4 separate regions of the Homo sapiens genome follow, and regions 2, 3 and 4 are each linked to region 1. Evidence: promoter capture Hi-C in human tissues and cell types (Jung and others, 2019). All regions are on one chromosome and are shown on one strand. The core of a region is centred on a gene start or on the middle of the fragment in contact, and the rest is flanking DNA. Distances in the headings are between cores, read along the strand shown.

Region 1 (4,203 bases), core at 439-2,938:
AATACAAGAAACTAGCCGGGCGTGATGGTGGGTGCCTGAGGTCCCAGCTACTCAGAAGGCTGAGGTGGGAGGATCACTCGAGCCTGGGAAACAGGGGTTGCAATGAGCCAATAACATGCTACTGTACTCCAACCTAGGTGACAGAGTGAGAACCCATCTCAAAACAAACAAAAAATTCGTCTAGTCTGCGTCATCTTTAATTTTCCTTTATCAGAAGAATTATTTATCTATTTGTCTCACTTTCCTTTGCTGACATGATTTTCCCCCCTCAAAAAAGAGATGAAAGTGGAATCATTCTTTCGCTTCAAAAAGTTAAGAATTACTGCTGTCTTTAAAAATATTAATATGAGGCCGGGCGCGGTGGCTCACGCCTGTAATCCCAGCACTTTGGGAGGCCGAGGCAGGCGGATCACGAGGTCAGGAGATCGAGACCATCCTGGCTAAAATGGTGAAACCCCGTCTCTACTAAACATACAAAAAATTAGCCGGGCGTAGTGGCGGGCGCCTGTAGTCCCAGCTACTTGGGAGGCTGAGGCAGGAGAATGGCGTGAACCCGGGAGGCGGAGCTTGCAGTGAACCAGATCCCGCCACTGCACTCCAGCCTAGGCGACAGAGCGAGACTCCGTCTCAAAAAAAAAAAAAAAAAAAAAAAAAATATTAATATGAGCTAGACAAGGTTTTTTAATACATTTCAATTTAATTATGAAGTGTCCAAGACAAGAAAAAACTGTGAAAACCAACGACTTATGTACCTGATGGTTTAGATTTCTTTTGGAATTGTACATCTGTTCAAAATACAATTACATCTGCATTGTTGGAAACGTTTGGATAAAAACCAGTTTATATAAAGGTTTCAATCAGTCCACATCCATGAGAAAGTAGAAAGGGCAGGAAATGATTAAGGGGGATTATTGCTAATCTGATAAACACAGATTTGTGTCTTTCGGAGAGACAGAAGTGTCACTCTCTCCATAGCTGTACCATTCCTACCACCTGGCCCCCAAGTGGCATTGCTTTAACCCATTGTCTCTAGGGAAAATGTTCTCTTTCGATTTTGGTTCTCAGTCCTATAATTTCTGGGGCTTAAATTAGTCCTGGAGCTAGGGAAGAGGTGATGTCATCCTTCCATTGTCTCCTTCGGCCACAGTTTCATTTTAAGAGTATTGGTAAGTAAGTGGGCAGTGTGACTAGATGGCGGTCTGGACTCGGTATCAGGGCTGTGTGCATGCCCAGCTGGGGGGCCTTGGTGGTGTGTGATGTGATAGATACACACATGGTTGGCATCCCCAAGTGTGTCTGCGCTTGGGTTCATTTGTGTGTGCATGTGTGTCCATTTGATGTGGCGTGTCCCCAAGCTTGTGGAGTCGTCTGTGAGTCTGTTTTGTGGGGTGTGGCCCAGGTGTGTCAGGGTCCACCATGCAGTCGGGGCTTGAGCCTGAGTGCCCAGGTGTGTTAGGGTGGATGTGACTTCTGTGGGGCGTCCCCAGGTGTGTGAAGCTGGTTGCGCTGTGTCTGCGGCGGGGCGTCTCCGGCGGGCATCGGCGTGGGTGGGTCTGGCTGTTAGGCGGCCAGTTGTGCGAGCGGCCACGTGTGTGCGAGGGCGCCGCAGGGGCTGGCGGGCCTCGCGTTCCGCCTGCAGGGGGCGCCGCCGGGGGCGGCCTGGGAGCAGAGGCGCGGGCCCGGCCCTGCATTTCCGCCCTGGCCCTGCCCTCCCCGACAGCCCCGGCTGCCGGCAGGTGAGGCGCTGAGCCCGGGCGGGGGTCGGGGCTGCGCCTGCTCCGCCCCCCAGGCGGGGTGTCCTGGCGCCCGCGGGAACCTGGGGCGTCGCTCCCTGCGCGGCGTCCGGGTCGAGGCCGCAGCACTCGGCGTCCCCGCGGGTGAGGGAGGAGGCCTGGGGCGCCGCCGGCCGGCGAGGCCAGCCGGAGGGAGGGGACGGTGGACCCCGAAACGCGTCCTCCATTGCCCCGCGCGGGGGCCACGGGCGCGATTGCCAGAACGGGCAGAGGGCGGTAAAAGCCAGGAACCGCCTCACGCACGGGCGCTGCTTCCCTGTAAAGGAAGCGTGACAGCCCACACGCTGGCTTTCAGAGGACCTCAGCTGAACCGGGCTAACACTTCTCAGAAATTGTTTTTCATTTTAAAGATTTCCTGTTTGTAAGGAGACTAGAAGCTGCAAAAGAAATCTAAAAACGTCTCCTGGCACTTGTGAATTTCTGATCTAAGGTTTCTTTGGAGCCATTAGTGAAACTTCTGAAATTTTGAAGAAATTTACTGCCTTGATTATTAATTATGGTTATCATTGCTGTTTTACTCTGTGGGCCAAGGACAACGCCACAAGCTCAAAAGCAGACTTAAGTGTTTTTTGAACACAGCTTCTTAACTCCACGCTTAGTTGATTTAATATTTAAGTGATAAGAAAATGCAGTCGATTTCTGGCCCTTTTTATTGTTTGGGATGAAGTCTTGCCCTGTTGCCCAGGCTGGAGTGCAGTGGCGCGATCTCGGCTCACTGCAACCTCTGCCTTCCGGGTTCAAGCGATTCTCCTGCCTCAGTCTCCCGGGTAGCTGGGATTACAGGCGCCTGCTATCACGCCCAGCTTATTTTTGTGTTTTTAGTAGAGACAGGGTTTCACCATGTTGGCCAGGCTGGTCTCGAACTCCTGACCCCGTGATCCGCCCGCCTTGGCCTCCCAAAATGTTGGGATTACAGGCATGAGCCACTGCACCCGGGATTTGTGGCCTTTTTTAAAAGCAAGTTATTCGTTTTGCTAAATGTCCCAGGAGAAATGATTAATGAAAAACTAAAGGTGACCTATTTAAAGTGTAGGTCTTACACACACGTAGGTGTCCTTATGTACATTTACCTGTAAGTGAAGACTTTTCCCTGGCCTCATTCAATTTATTGAAATGCTCAGATGAAGAGCACCTGCAGTTTGCCCGTATTTTCCCAAAATGCCTTGTTTTCCTGAAACTATTCCCAGAAGAAGCCAGACTTCCCTGAATAAGCAGACCACTGTGTTCTAGCAGAGATTCGTATTGTAAAAGCTGAGTTTGCAAAGTTAAATTAATTTCTAATTGGTGGATTTTTGTACGGAAATACTTTGGGCTAGTTGATTTTACTAACCAGGCCCTAACTACTACTAGTTAGGAGAGGGTGGTTGTTTGTGGTGATCTGGATAGTAGGTAGCAGTAAGCAGAATAGAAGAGGGATTTTAAAATGATCTGTTCATTTCTCTCTTTACTAGTAAGATTTCCAATCTGTGTCCATTCTTGAAGTGAAGTCATTGGGAGGCTTTGTATCCACCTCGAGCCAGGGCCCTTACCAGTGATTAGGACACCAGCAGGCTGGTGTGGAAGTGTAGTGCAGCCATGCTTGAAGAGGGGACAGGACCCAAGGAAAGGTGACAGTAAGAGGACAGAAACACGAAATATTCGCAGCCCTCTTTAGAACATCCTCCATCTAGGCAAACTCTATTAGGAATTTTAAGAGTTCTCAATTAAACATGACTGCCCAGTGTCCTGCTGAACAGGAATTCATTCTTCAGTTGAAGCTCTATTGTCAGTAAAACTACTCAGGATAAGGCAGCCGTGTTTAGGCCGTGAGGACCTGCCCCTGGACTGCGGAGCTTGCTCCGTAAAAGGCATCGTGATACCCCCTTAAATGGATTTACAGAAAAGACTTAGCTATTGGAAGTCTCTGGGATTGTATGGCATCATGAGGTAACAGACCTGGTAAATAGCTAGAACGTAGCGAAGAATGAAACCAGAGGCAGTGTGCTGTTGGAACTGAGAGGTGAGTGCTCACTGGAGGGCCAGGAGAAGGTCACAGTTGGGGAGACCTTAAGCAGAGAACAGATTTTTATAGGCACAGGAATGGAAAGGGTGGCCAACACCATGAGCAAAAATAAGAAGCTGAAAATGACAGTGTGTTCAGACAAAGGTGAACAACTGGCGTGCTGAGGCTGGACTCCGCGAGAGGAGGGGTGGGGTCGGGGGTGGGGGTGCCTGGAAAGCAAGGCTCTCCAGTGATAACCTCTACATTTTGATCAAGGTTCTGATTTTGTTTGTTTGTTTGTTTTGCTTATTGGGAAAATTTTAAGCAAACATAAAAGCCCAGCAAAGTAGAATGAATTTCCATATATCCATCAAATGGACTTCACAAGTCTTGTTTGGCCATATCCACTTCATCTTTTTTTTTCTTTTT
Region 2 (4,203 bases), core at 694-3,193, 220 kb before region 1:
TTTGGGGATCATCTGCAATGTTGATGCATTTTATTGAATGAGGGTAGAGTCAGCTTTCATAATCTCTTCCAAAAATTCTACAATTTAACCACAGTTAATACTGTCACTGCTCAATTCTACTACTTACCAGGATTTTTAGAAATTACTTACTTAAGAAGGAGGCTGGCAGTTTGGAGCTCCATCTCTCTCAACAGTATTTTTGTCAGAATTTTAAGTCATGCCAATAAAAAACAAAAGTAAGGTGCTACTATAACATCAAGCCTTAGGTGCACATTCTGCTCTAATTTTACAGACCTCTTTTCCCCATGTTTGTAATGTGACCCACAAAATAAACCTGAGCTAGGAATTGTTCATTCTATCCTCATCTGAGAGCTAAGAGCACAGCGGTTCACAGAGACCATGAAGTGATAGAAGTAGGACTAGAACCCAAGTTCAAGGGGCCCAGAGCCCCCTCCTCTGTGCCTCACTAATAGTGAATACCTCAAGGATTATGTTTTCATCTCATTTCTAAACACCAGTGCCCTATACTTAACATAATAAAACCAGTGTAAGAACTAAAAGTGCTTTACACCAAATTATAGCAATATATCACAAAGCTTAGCATAACATTACGAATAGCTCATTGAACCAAGGCAGTTTGTTTGCAGAGTAAGCAAGCAGATTTTCTGCATAATATAGCAGTGCAGCTGGTAATAGCAGCCACTGAAATAAAAGCTGGGGCCGGTGGGGGCAGCCTCATTTAGGGACAAGTAGTAGACCCTAATGAAATTGCATTTTGGCCATATCATCCTCCTGAGAAAATTCCCCTTGAGGTTTTCCATTTGAATCCTGGGCATATTTATGAAGATCAAAGTAATGGCTTTTTAAAATTAATTACATGAATCTGTAGCTCAACAACATTGAGTGAAAGGCGGGTGTTGTACCCCATGCCTTGTTACAGCTGTACATCACACACATCAAAAGCCCAGGATGCCGGAGAGAGCACGTTCCCGGCTACATCAGCCCCCAAGCCGCCGGGATGAACGTGGAAAGAGTACAAAAGATCAGTCCCCAAAGTTGTTGTGACAGCTTAATTGTATTATAGTGCTCGGATAATTCCCATTTATTTGGCTTTTTCCTCAGAGCAAATGCTGGCCCCCCAAGCATAGCTATTACCAGGAGAATTAAGATTCACAACTTTGATGGGTGCTCTCGCTCGCTCCCTCTAATACCAGCCCTGCTCAAAAGTCCTGGTAATTGTTCTACCCCGATCAGGACTTCCCCCAGCCTTCAGCATGCCGAGACCCGACAGCAGCTAACTAATTGCAATTAAAATCTGCCACGTGAGTGGAAGAGAATAACATAAATTAATCAGTACATTAGCAGAATTACATTTAAATGTTCAAATGTGCATTCAACATAGTGGGACATTTTAAATTATAATGCAAAGTGCTTCATTATGGATGCTGATATTTTAATGAGGAAATGTGATGTTTGGTTAAATAGGAGTACAATATACAGACTTCCTTAAAATTAGCATCAATGATGCATTTTAATTCAAAAAACGAGTTGTGGTCTGTGTAATTCCTGCATATCAATGTGGAAAATTTGCCTGGAGCTGTGGAAACAGTTGAACATCTCATTCTCTGAAGAATTAATAATTTCAGCTGTACTAACTAGCACTTTATGTAAATTGTCAGATAAATCACAGCAATAAATAAAGGTTTTAGAAGAACAGAACAGTGTGCTTATCCTTAATTTATTCAATCATCAATTCATGTATACTGAAGCTAAGGGATATGAAAGATTCAACATACCAGGCAAAAAAAAAAAAAAAGGAAAAGAGAAAATGTCTTTTATAGCCACACAGAGACTCCAGAATAAAGATCCCATCCAATTTTACCAAAATCTTGCATGTAAAAATCACTCTATGATGCATGTAAACATAAAAGATAGATTAAAATTTATATTAAGTTTATTTTCAAGTACAGATAGTCAAGGCTTAGTAATCAACATCTACACTAGAGTCTCAAAAGTCCTCCTTATGAAATAAATATCTTACGTAATTGCATGAACATAGAGCACAAACAATACACGTATATCAAAAGGACTGTGTCAGGCTGTCTTTGTCATTTCCATGTGCCACTTTTGTTTATGATGCTGCAGGCACAAATCCTAAGAGACATGGTAGAAGGTGACCTAAATTGGGTCTGCCATTTCTGTCACTGGTTAGAGATGGGGCAACCTCAAAGAAGACAAAATCCTTGTCTTCTTCTTCTGGGCCATCTTCTGATTTTATTAGCAGCAAGATAAATTCTTGCTGGATTTTGTGATATAACAAAGCCACGGCAGGGCAGGATAGAGCAACGAACCACCACTGTTAGAGTATACACAAAAGAGCCTGGATTTATTTACAAGAACTCAAGTGACTGTGGATCTGAAATGATCATAATTAAACAATACAAAACAAGACCAAATTTTAATGCAAAGAAAATCTGTCTTCCATGATACCCATTAGAAACCCCACCCACCGTCCATTTATGTCCTGCTGATAATTCCCTGTTAAAATTGCCTTATTATACACAACTTTGCTCTTATTTAGCAAACAACAGAAGGTTTTGGTATGTTCCTTTCTTGGGTTTCAGGCGAGAGAGTTTTTCTCTTTCCAAAGCAATTTTTCTCCCTAAATAAACTGGTTCCTCCTTTGGAAAGAGATTCTCTCTCGGTGTCTCTGTGCTATGTGTCATCAGTCTGCCACTGCTGATGGGAACCCACCTTCTCCCAGGGAAGCTGGAGCATGACTTGGCACCCTGCCATGTATAAAGACACCCGTTCACTTTGTGAAAGGTGTCTGAATCAAAATGGAGCCACTAATGCTAAAATAAATCCTGACAAATAGAGCCAGGCAAGGCCATGAAGAAAGGGTTCTCCTGCTAGCAGTCCTGATAATGAAAAAGACCTGGGTATTATGCTTACTACCTGGATGACAGGATCAGTCACACTCCAAACCTCAGCATCACACAATATACCCATGAAACACACCGGTGTGTTTACCCCCTGAATCTAAAATTTTAAAGTTGAAATTTAAAAAAAAGACTACAAAAGCCACAACCTTGCACAAAGACCATCACAACCATACTCACAAAAATACTACTGGAAAGACATCTGCCCAGTAGCTGCCTGTCTAACCCCACACTGGCATCACCCCTGTTGATCCTTGTAGCCAAGAATAATTATTTCAAAACAATGATGTAATCCTCTTCATTTTTTCCTTTCAAAGCCTTTTTCTTCTTCTACCTCCCTGAATACATACATAGTATATTACGGCATTCATATTCCCGTTGCAATGCTCTCTTCCCAAATAAACATCTTTTCTTTTGGAGAATCACGCTCTGTTATTTAGTTTGACAACTTCTAAGCATAACCATTGACAACGTTGAATTTTACCTGAGCCCACTGATCCTGCAAAACAGGGACGGTTAAGAAATCCCCTTACTTTCTTGTGTTCCAGAAAACAGCTGCCTGCAAAGAACTCCCTATCCCCACAGGACTTAAAGAAGACTCATGAGTGTTCCCTTTGTTTTACCTAGGATGAGATGACACAGACACACCAGGTCCCATTCTTGGCCTCACAAAAGATCAGCTGAACTGCTTGTCCTCATGAATCAAGCGGAACAAAATGCTTTTTAACCAAGCTTGGGTCAAGCTGCTCGCCTTCCACAGGAACTTTGACCCACCCTCAGCCTGAGCAGCACAGAGCCACCCCTAAGAACAGGCTGACCTCAGAGTAGGACGTTCTCTCATCCACTAGCCTACCACTTCCCATACCCAGTTCCTTCCAGCCTTGTTTATTCCTCTCTGTAAAAGAAATCCCATTCTGCCTCTCTCTTGAGCTGCCTGCCAACCTTATGGTCATAGCTTTCTCCCGATTGCAATTATCCTTTCTTCTTCCCACTTTGCAGTAATCCTTTTGAAATATGGATTTGTTTTTTTATTTGACACCATCGACAGCCGGTGGTGTCTAAGTGCTGCAGCTCCAAGCACTATCAAAATCTATGCAAAGACATCTTATTATATCCCACATGAATTAAGATAACTCAACCCCAGAAGGAAGTGAGGCTACTAGAAACTGGTACCAACAACAGGATTTTCTTTGGGTACCATCAGAGCTAAAAGCTTAGCGTTTTCTTGGTCTGCAAACACAGAAGCCAACTAATTGCACCT
Region 3 (4,203 bases), core at 811-3,310, 160 kb after region 1:
TGGTCCTCCAACCTATTTTTCCATGTTTAGCTCTCATTACTTCCCTAAATGAATACTTCCCAATTTGCCTGTTGATTCACAAACACGTTTTTCTAAGGTGTATCTCAAATATCATCTGATGCCCTTGGCTAAGGGTTTCCAGAAGATTAACAAAAAATAAAAGAGTGCAACTGACTGAGAGCTCACAGAAGCAAATATACTGAGGATCGTATTAAGCGAAAAATCATCTTTTTATTTACAATTAATTGAGAATCACAGAAACCGCTTTTAAAGAATTTCGGGGTTGGAAAGGTGAGGTGGTGGCAAGGTAGTAAGGGAAGAGAAGCACGACTATCATTAAATTGTGCTGGCATAACGAGTTATCTGTTTGTTTGTTTATTTATTTATTTATTTATTTATTTTTGAGATGGAGTCTTGCTTTGTTGCCCAGGCTGGAGTGCAGGGGTCCAGCCTCTTGAGCAGCTGGGACTGCAGGTGTGCACCACCATCCCCGGTTAATATTTTGTATTTTCAGTAAAGACAGGGTTTCACCATGTTACAGGTCAGACTGGTCTGGTATCAAACGCCTTACCTCAGGTGATCCACCCGCCTCGGCCTCCCAAAGTGCTGGGATTACAGGCTTAAGCCACCACACCCGGCCTGGTATCTGTATTTTATTTTATTTATTATTATTATTTTTTTTGAGATGGAGTCTCACTCTGTCACCCAGGCTGGAGTGCAGTGGCGCGATCTCAGCTCACTGCAAGTTCTGCCTCCTGGGTTCACACCATTCTCCTGCCTCAGCCTCCCACGCAGCTGGGACTACAGGCGCCCGCCACCACACCCAGCTAATTTTTTGTATTTTTAGTGGAGATGGGGTTTCACTGTGTTAGCCAGGATGGTCTCGATCTCCTGACCTCGTGATCCACCCACCTCGGCCTCTCAAAGTGCTGGGATTACAGGCGTGAGCCACTCATACCGTGTACAAAAATCAATCCCATGAGGATTAAGTAGTTAACTTTGAAAAGCACAATTTAAAAAGGTTTAAAAGAAAATATAGGTATCTTTGTGAGCTTAGGAGTAGAACAAGATTATCTACACAAACGCAAAACACACAAACCATAAAGGAAAATATTGAAAATTCTGACATTAAATCTTGCCTTAAAACTTAACTTGGATAACTTAAAACAATAAAAACAGAAGCTACTTTATCAACACATACGACAAAAAGGAGCCATAACGCAGGAAGAACTTTTATGAGTCAATAAGAAAAAGATAATCCAATTTAAAAAGTGGGCAAAAGTCATGAGCAGATATTTTACAGAAGAGAAAACAAGAGAGCCAATAAATATATATTTTCAATGTTCATTGTCATACTAATCAGGGAAGTATACATTAAAACCATAATGAGATGCCATCTAAACCCACCAGTCAGGAAAAACCTAAGTAGTCTGGGAAGGCCAAGGGTTCACCAGGATGTGAAAAAAAATGTTAAGGGCACAGATTCCTTGGTTCAAATTCTGGCACTCCCATTTACTACCAGATGGGAAAGCAATTTAGCCTCTACAAGCTTCTGTTTTCCCAAATACAAAATGAGGGATAACACTAGTACGTACTTTATTGGGTTTTTGGGGGCATTCATACATACAAAGTGCTTAGAACAGTCAGTGCCGGGCATAATAAGTACAGAATAAGGTTAGTTCATTGTTCTCATTGTGACTATCATCTTCACTACTGATGGGCACATAAGCTGGTACAGCCACACAGAGAAACCCACCTGGCCTTGCCATGCAGGAATGAGAAAGCACAGGCCCCACAGCATGGCTGTTATACCGGCACATGACCTGGAGAACCTCCTATGTCAAGAGGAAACAGGAAGTAGGGTGTTCATACAAGCATCACTGTGACAACAAAATAAGGAAAATAACACAGATGTCTATTTAGAGGAGAATAAGTAATTGGTGGTAATATTAATATGATGTATGGAAGTAGATAAACTGCAGCTATAGGCAGCAACATGGGCCAGGCTCACAAACATCATGCTGGTGGGGAGAAGACAACTCCTGGAGGAACACAGAGAGGATGGGGGCAATTACAAGGTTCAAAAACAAGAGCAGCTCAACAAGATACTGCTCACAGTGTTGGTGTATTCATAAATATCCCTAAAGAAAAGCAAGGTAGTGATCAATTTAAAACTCATAATGGTGTTCTTCAGGGACACTGGAAAGGAGGATTTAATCAAGGAAGAATGATACAAATAGCACTGATAATGTTTTGGTTTTTTGTTTGTTTGTTTGTTTTTGAGACGGAGTTTCACTCTTGTTGCCCAGGCTGGAGTGCAATGGCGCGATCTCAGCTCACCACAACCCGGGTTCAAGGGATTCTCCTGCCTCAGCCTCCTGAGTAGCTGGGATTACAGGCATGCGCCACCATGCCTGGCTAATTTTGTATTTTTAGTAGAGACGGGGTTTCTCCACGTTGGTCAGGCTGGTCTCGAACTCCGAACCTCAGGTGATCTGCCTGCTTCGGCCTCCCAAAGGCTAGGATTACAGGCGTGAGCCACAGTGACCAGCCTGTTTTCTTTTTTTTAATCTAGATAGTGGGTAAACAGGTTTTCATTGGGTCATTCTTTAGCTTTTATATAGATATAATAAATATTTTTGGCTGGGTGTGATGGCTCACACCTGTAATCCCAGCACTTTAGGAGGCTGAGGCAGGTGGATGACCTGAGGTCAGGAGTTCGAGACCAGCCTGGCCAACATGGCGAAACCTCATCTCTACTAAAAATACAAAAATTAGCGAGGCATGGTAGTGCGTGTCTGTAATCCCAGCTACTCCAGAGGCTGAGGCAAGAGAATCGCTTGAACCCGAAAGACAGAGGTTGCAGTGAGCCAAGATCGTACCACTGCACTCCAGCCTGGGCAACAGAGGGAGGCTGTGTCTCAAAATAATAATAATACATATTATTTTATATTAAATGAGGTTTAATAATAAAATTTAATGATACAAGTTAATGATAAATAGTAATATTTAATACTATTTAAGAATATAAAGTTTATATGTATGCTCAAAAATCCAGAGAAAAAAGAATTGTAGTTATTACTTTAAAGTACCTACAGTTACTATAGTAATCAATTACTACAGTAATCAATTTCAAGTGATTACTGTAAAATCACTTGAAAAATGCCTTTGGTAATATTCATCCCTTATTTCTCAGAATAAACAATTGCAAAGAGACACACAAACACTTATAATTGCATTTCGTAGCTATCTGCTTGGAGGTGTTAAGCTGGAACTCTTGGAGCAATGCAGCCCAGGAAGCAAGCAGAGAGAGAAAAGGGGGAGTCAGGAATAGAATTTGGAGGTTTGCCCATGCTAACAGTGGTCAGAAGAGAAATCAGCAGATGACTGTAAAGCCACCAGTTCTTTCTCCTGTCACGCTTGCAGATCCCTTCTGCACACAGTGCCCTCATCCCCACAGCTGCTGAGACTTCTTACCTCCGAATCCCTAACATCTGCTGACTTCTCTCTTTGCCTCCAATCTTCACCTCATGCTTCTTCAAGCCACTCTCCACAAAGCAGCCAAAAACCAAAAAAACCTCGTAAGCTACAATTCTGTTCAATCATCACTTCCTTACTGAAAGCTCTTCCACGGGTCCCTACTGACCTAGGGATAAAGTAGAGCCTCTCCTATGTCCTTAATAAGGCTCATGTGACTCGGTTCCTACCCACCTTGCTGGGGCACACCACTCCTCAGCTCATTCTCTGACTACAAAGGTTTAAAGCAGAGGGTGTCCAAATGTGGCCCAGACCAGCAGCATTACCTGGGGGCTTGCCAGAAATGCAGACCTAGCCCAGACCTGCTAAATCAGAGTAAGCTATGGGTGGGTCCAACAACTTGAGTTTCCACAAGGCTTCTAGTTGATTCTGAAGCATATTAAAGTTTAAGCATCTCTGGTTTAAAGCATGAATGACAGGTAATTATAATTTGAAGAAGAATGTGATAGGAAAAATCGCAAAGTACTATAGCATAGTGGGGGAAAGCACACATGACTGCCACGGACCAAGTTTTTGCTCTGCTTCTTCCTAGCTTTGTGATGCCCAGGAAGTTACATAGCTTGCCTCAGCATCCTGCAATGCTTGATGGCAAGGATCCTACCTACAGCAAGACTGCTCGGATTTAAATCATGGATCTAGGCTGAGGGTGTGGGGGGGGTGGGGGTG
Region 4 (4,203 bases), core at 448-2,947, 150 kb before region 1:
ATGTAAGATGGTGGCTTGGAGTTTATTTTCATTTGACATTTAAAAAAAATGTTCCAAAACAGATTACTAATCCCTCCTACATGACATTCATAGAAATCATTAAAAAGATATAAAAAAGTAAACACGTAAGGGCATAGTCATGATTGGAAAGAAGAACACAAACTCTGGATGAACCAGAACGATACAGAATCTCTTTTTTTCTTTTTGAGATGAAGTCTAGCTTTGTTGCCCAAGCTAGAGTGCAGTGGCACCTTCTCGGCTCACTGAAACCTCCGCCTCCCAGGTTCAAGCAATTCTCCTGCCTCCATCTCGCGAGTAGCTGGGACAACAGGCGCATGCTACCATGCCCGGCTGCTACATTTTGTACTTTTAGTAGAGACGGGGTTTCACTATGTTGTCCAGGCTGGTCTCAAACTCCTAACCCTGTGATCTGCCCACATCGGCCTCCCGAAGTGCTGAGATTACAGGCGTGAGCCACTGTGCTCGGCCCAGAATCTCTTAAAATTGGAAAGTAGGCAGGCATAAAGAAGAAAAACTGCAGCCTAGCTGGGAGTGGGAGAATTCTGCTGTGAGCCTCAAGGGGTGCCCCCGACCAAGAAGGGGGGATCCAGAAAGAGGAGGAGGAACTCAGAGTGGCCAAGGTGAGCGCAGCGTGGTAGGGCAGCCTCCGGGCAGGGCACCTGCACCCATGGATGCAAGTGTATGCCTTCCCCAGAGCAGCAGGTACAGGAACTCTGGGAGCAAGAGACGCAGCGCAATGCCCCAGATATGCCTGCCTTCCCCAGAGCAGCAGGTACAGGAACTCTGGGAGCAAGAGACGCAGCGCAATGCCCCAGATATGCCTTAAAGACCCACTGTGAGATGTCATCTCCTTACACACCACAGGAGCCTCTGCCAGGCTCACTAAAGCCAGTGTAAAGCAGCAGCAACAATGGCAGTTCCCACCCCATCTCAATCATCTGCGTGAACTATTATAGCAGATCTTCTAACAGGGAAACTTGGCATTGATTTACATAAGCAGAATCAAATATTCCAGCAGATCCAGCATCAGAAGATAGAAATAAGTGAAAAAGGAAAAACTTTCATTAAAGAAGTAGGTTGGTGAATAGAAGCAGTGTGTGTGTAAGTGTGTGTGTGTGTGTGTGTGTGTACATGCACATATAAAATATCTTTAAATATTTAAGGACATAATGTGTGCGATCACAAGAATAGAAAGAGTCTGGGCGTGGTGGCTCATGCCTGTAATCTCAGCACTTTGGTAGGTCAAGGCAGGAGGATCGCTTGAACCCAGGAGTTCAAGACCGGTATGGGCAACAGAGCAAGACCCCATCTCAAAGAAAAAAGAACCAATCAAAACTATTGGATGAACATTTTAATTGTTGAAACTTAAAAACCTAGTACGTGGGTGAAAAACAAAATAAGCACAGCTGAGAGGCAAATAGATTGGAAAATGGAACCATGGAATTTGCTCAAAATGACACAAAAATTAAGAGATTTGTAGAATAAATCTAGTTCCAGCATCCATGTAATAGGAGTTACAAAAGAAGAGCCTGGAGAAATTAAAAGTAAATAAAATTTTAAGAAATAGTTGATTAGAAATGTACAGAATCGAAGTAAGACATGAGGTCTCTGAAAGAAGCCATCAATACCCAGCAGGATAAATATTTTTAAAATTATCCAGACACAGTTGAGAAGAGAGAACATTTGCATCCACATGGCTTAAATATTAGGACCAAGGACAAAGACCACCTGTTTCAACATAACTTAATTATTTGCTCCAGGAAATCCTTGCCCAGAAAGATAAAGCTGTAAACCAATAAATAACTGCTATTTACTTTAGGAAATTCCTGCAAACCAGTTTGTCTGGGCAAATAGTTTGTGCATCTGGCCAGTTTTCCTCACAGGACAGCCATGTTTTCATCTGGGCAAAGAGCTCTTTTATCAAACAGTTTACTTATAAATATTTGCTTTGAGCCCCTAGCTTCACTGTGGCCACAATCCTAAACTATCAGTTACGAACTTTGCTCATCCCAGTCAATTCCCCAGCTTGAAAGAACTGCCTCAAATCTCATGAGCTCAGACACCAAAATGCTATAAATATCCTCTCCTTACTTCTCCCTTTGAGCCATTGCTAAGGTCTCAAAGTGATGGTCTCCCTTACAGTAAGTTTAATAAACTTAGCTTTGCTTTATCAAAAGGTTATTTTGATAGATATTTTGGGAGTTGACAGTTGAAAATCCATGAAGAAACTTCAACATTAAAATAAAAAGAAAATCCTTAAAATCTTCTGGGGAAGAATAAACTGGTTATTGACAAAAGAAAAATAATATGGTCAGGCATGGTGGCTCATGCCTGTAATCCCAGCACTCTGGGAGGCTGAGATGGGTGGATCACCTGAGACCAGGAGTTCGAGAACAGCCTGACCAACATGCTGAAAACCCGTCTCTACTAAAAATACAAAAATTAGCCAGGTGTGGTGGTGGGCACCAGAAATCCCAGCTACTTGGGAGGCTGAGGTATGAGAATCGCTTGAACTCAGAAGGTGGAGGTTTCAGTGAGCCATTGCACTCTAGCCTGGGTGACAAGAGTGAGACTCCATCTCAAAAAAAAAAAAAAAAAAATCTGATTGACCTCAGCCTTCTTGACAATAACCATGGGCACAGGGAGACCTTGGAGCAATTATCTTCAATATCTAAAGGAAAATAATTTTGAACCTAAAATGTTCTAGCCAGACAAGCTATCTTTTAAAATTGAAGTCGGCAAACTATAGCCAATGGACCAGCCCCATTTTTACAAATTGTTTTGGAATACAGTCACACCCATTATTTATGTAGGTATCATTTGTGGCTGCTTTTGCACTACCTTGGCAGAGCTGAATAATTACAACTGAGACCATATGGCCACAAGTCTAAAATACTTACTATTTGGACCATTTAAAAGGGCTTGCTGACACCTGCTTTAAAATAAAGACATTCAAAAACTAACAGATGCTGGCGAGGTTGCGGAGAAAAGGGAATGCTTATACACCAATGGTGGGAATGTAAATTAGTTCAGCCACTGTAGAAAGCAGTTTGGAGATTTCTCAAATAACTTAAAACAGAGCTACCATTAGACTCAGCAATCCCACTATTGGGTATATGCCCAAAGGAAAAATAAGTCTTTTTACCAAAAAGACACATGCGCACGTATGTTCACTGCGGCACTATTCACAATAGCAAAAACATGGAATTAACCTGGATGCTCATCAACGGTGGACTGGATAAAGGAAATGTGGTACATATACACCATGGAATACCGTGCAGCCATAAAAATAATGAAATCATGTCTCTTGCAGCAACCTCCATTATCCTAAGTAAACACAGGAACAGAAGACCAAATACCATGTGTTCTCATTTATAAGTGGGAGCTAAGCATCGGGTACACACAGACATAAAGATGAGAACAATAAACACTGGGGACTACTAGAGGGGGGAGAGATGAAGGGGGCCAAGGGCTGAAAAACTACCTATTAGGTACTATGTTCACTACTTGGGTAAGGGGATCATTTGTCCCCAAAACTTCAGCATCACTAAATTTACCCATGTAACAAACCTGCACATGTACCCCTATATCCAAAATAAAAGTTGAAATTATAAAACTTTCTAAAATTAAGATAAAGACATTTGCAGATACGTAAAATCCCATAAAATTTACTATCCAATGATCCTCCTTGGAAGAATTACTGAAAATTATGGGGCAGTGGGAGGGACGGTTCCAGAAGGAAGAGATGACAGGTATAATGCAATGAGCTATAAACACAATAGTAAAATTTATTTTTACATTAAAATAAGTAGTAAATGTTTAAGCTTTATGTTTTGACATCCCATGCAATGTTAAAAGCAATGGAAGCAGGTGAGATTTTAAGTAGGGAAAACTAAAAGGTCAGTAAAGTTTTTCTTCTCAGTGGGACTGAGGAAAGCAGAGGAAAAAGATAATTGCAGACAAAGCTTATTAATTCTAGATAATTTCTAGGTAATTATTAATTCTAGACCATGTTAAGTATTTAAGTATTTGATATAAAATATGTACATTTCCAACTTACAGAAAGTAAAAGTGGAAAAATGAACCACTAATTAAAGGCAACTAGAAAGCCCAGTAGGAGAACACAAATTAAGAAAATAAGAATAAACCCAAACATACCAGTGAATTCCATAAATATAACTA

The links. Contacts are between HindIII fragments. The study calls those that stand out against the background at their distance.
Region 2: a fragment that was not itself captured here is called in contact with the fragment with the promoter of GGACT in region 1 in 1 of the 25 tissues and cell types used here (dorsolateral prefrontal cortex).
Region 3: a fragment that was not itself captured here is called in contact with the fragment with the promoter of GGACT in region 1 in 2 of the 25 tissues and cell types used here (liver and mesendoderm cells).
Region 4: a contact is called between a fragment that was not itself captured here and the fragment with the promoter of GGACT in region 1, in 2 of the 25 tissues and cell types used here (dorsolateral prefrontal cortex and thymus).

The regions. Positions count from the first base shown.
Region 1 is chr13:100,586,274-100,590,476 of GRCh38, reverse strand. It overlaps GGACT (gamma-glutamylamine cyclotransferase), which reads left to right and starts at 1,688. Exons shown (of 3, transcript NM_001195087.2): 1 at 1,688-1,736. RefSeq lists a silencer at 1,536-2,055. The HindIII fragment of the contact is 6,002 bases long and covers 1-3,269 here.
Region 2 is chr13:100,808,616-100,812,818 of GRCh38, reverse strand. The region is part of intron 2 of NALCN-AS1 (NALCN antisense RNA 1); the gene reads right to left. Among named protein-coding and RNA genes, the nearest start is that of NALCN-AS1, 100 kb to the right of the region's middle. The HindIII fragment of the contact is 3,944 bases long and covers 1-3,915 here.
Region 3 is chr13:100,428,345-100,432,547 of GRCh38, reverse strand. The region is part of intron 20 of PCCA (propionyl-CoA carboxylase subunit alpha); the gene reads right to left. Among named protein-coding and RNA genes, the nearest start is that of PCCA-AS1, 51 kb to the left of the region's middle. The HindIII fragment of the contact is 4,793 bases long and covers 1-4,203 here.
Region 4 is chr13:100,732,166-100,736,368 of GRCh38, reverse strand. The region is part of intron 1 of NALCN-AS1 (NALCN antisense RNA 1); the gene reads right to left. Among named protein-coding and RNA genes, the nearest start is that of NALCN-AS1, 26 kb to the right of the region's middle. The HindIII fragment of the contact is 5,237 bases long and covers 1-4,203 here.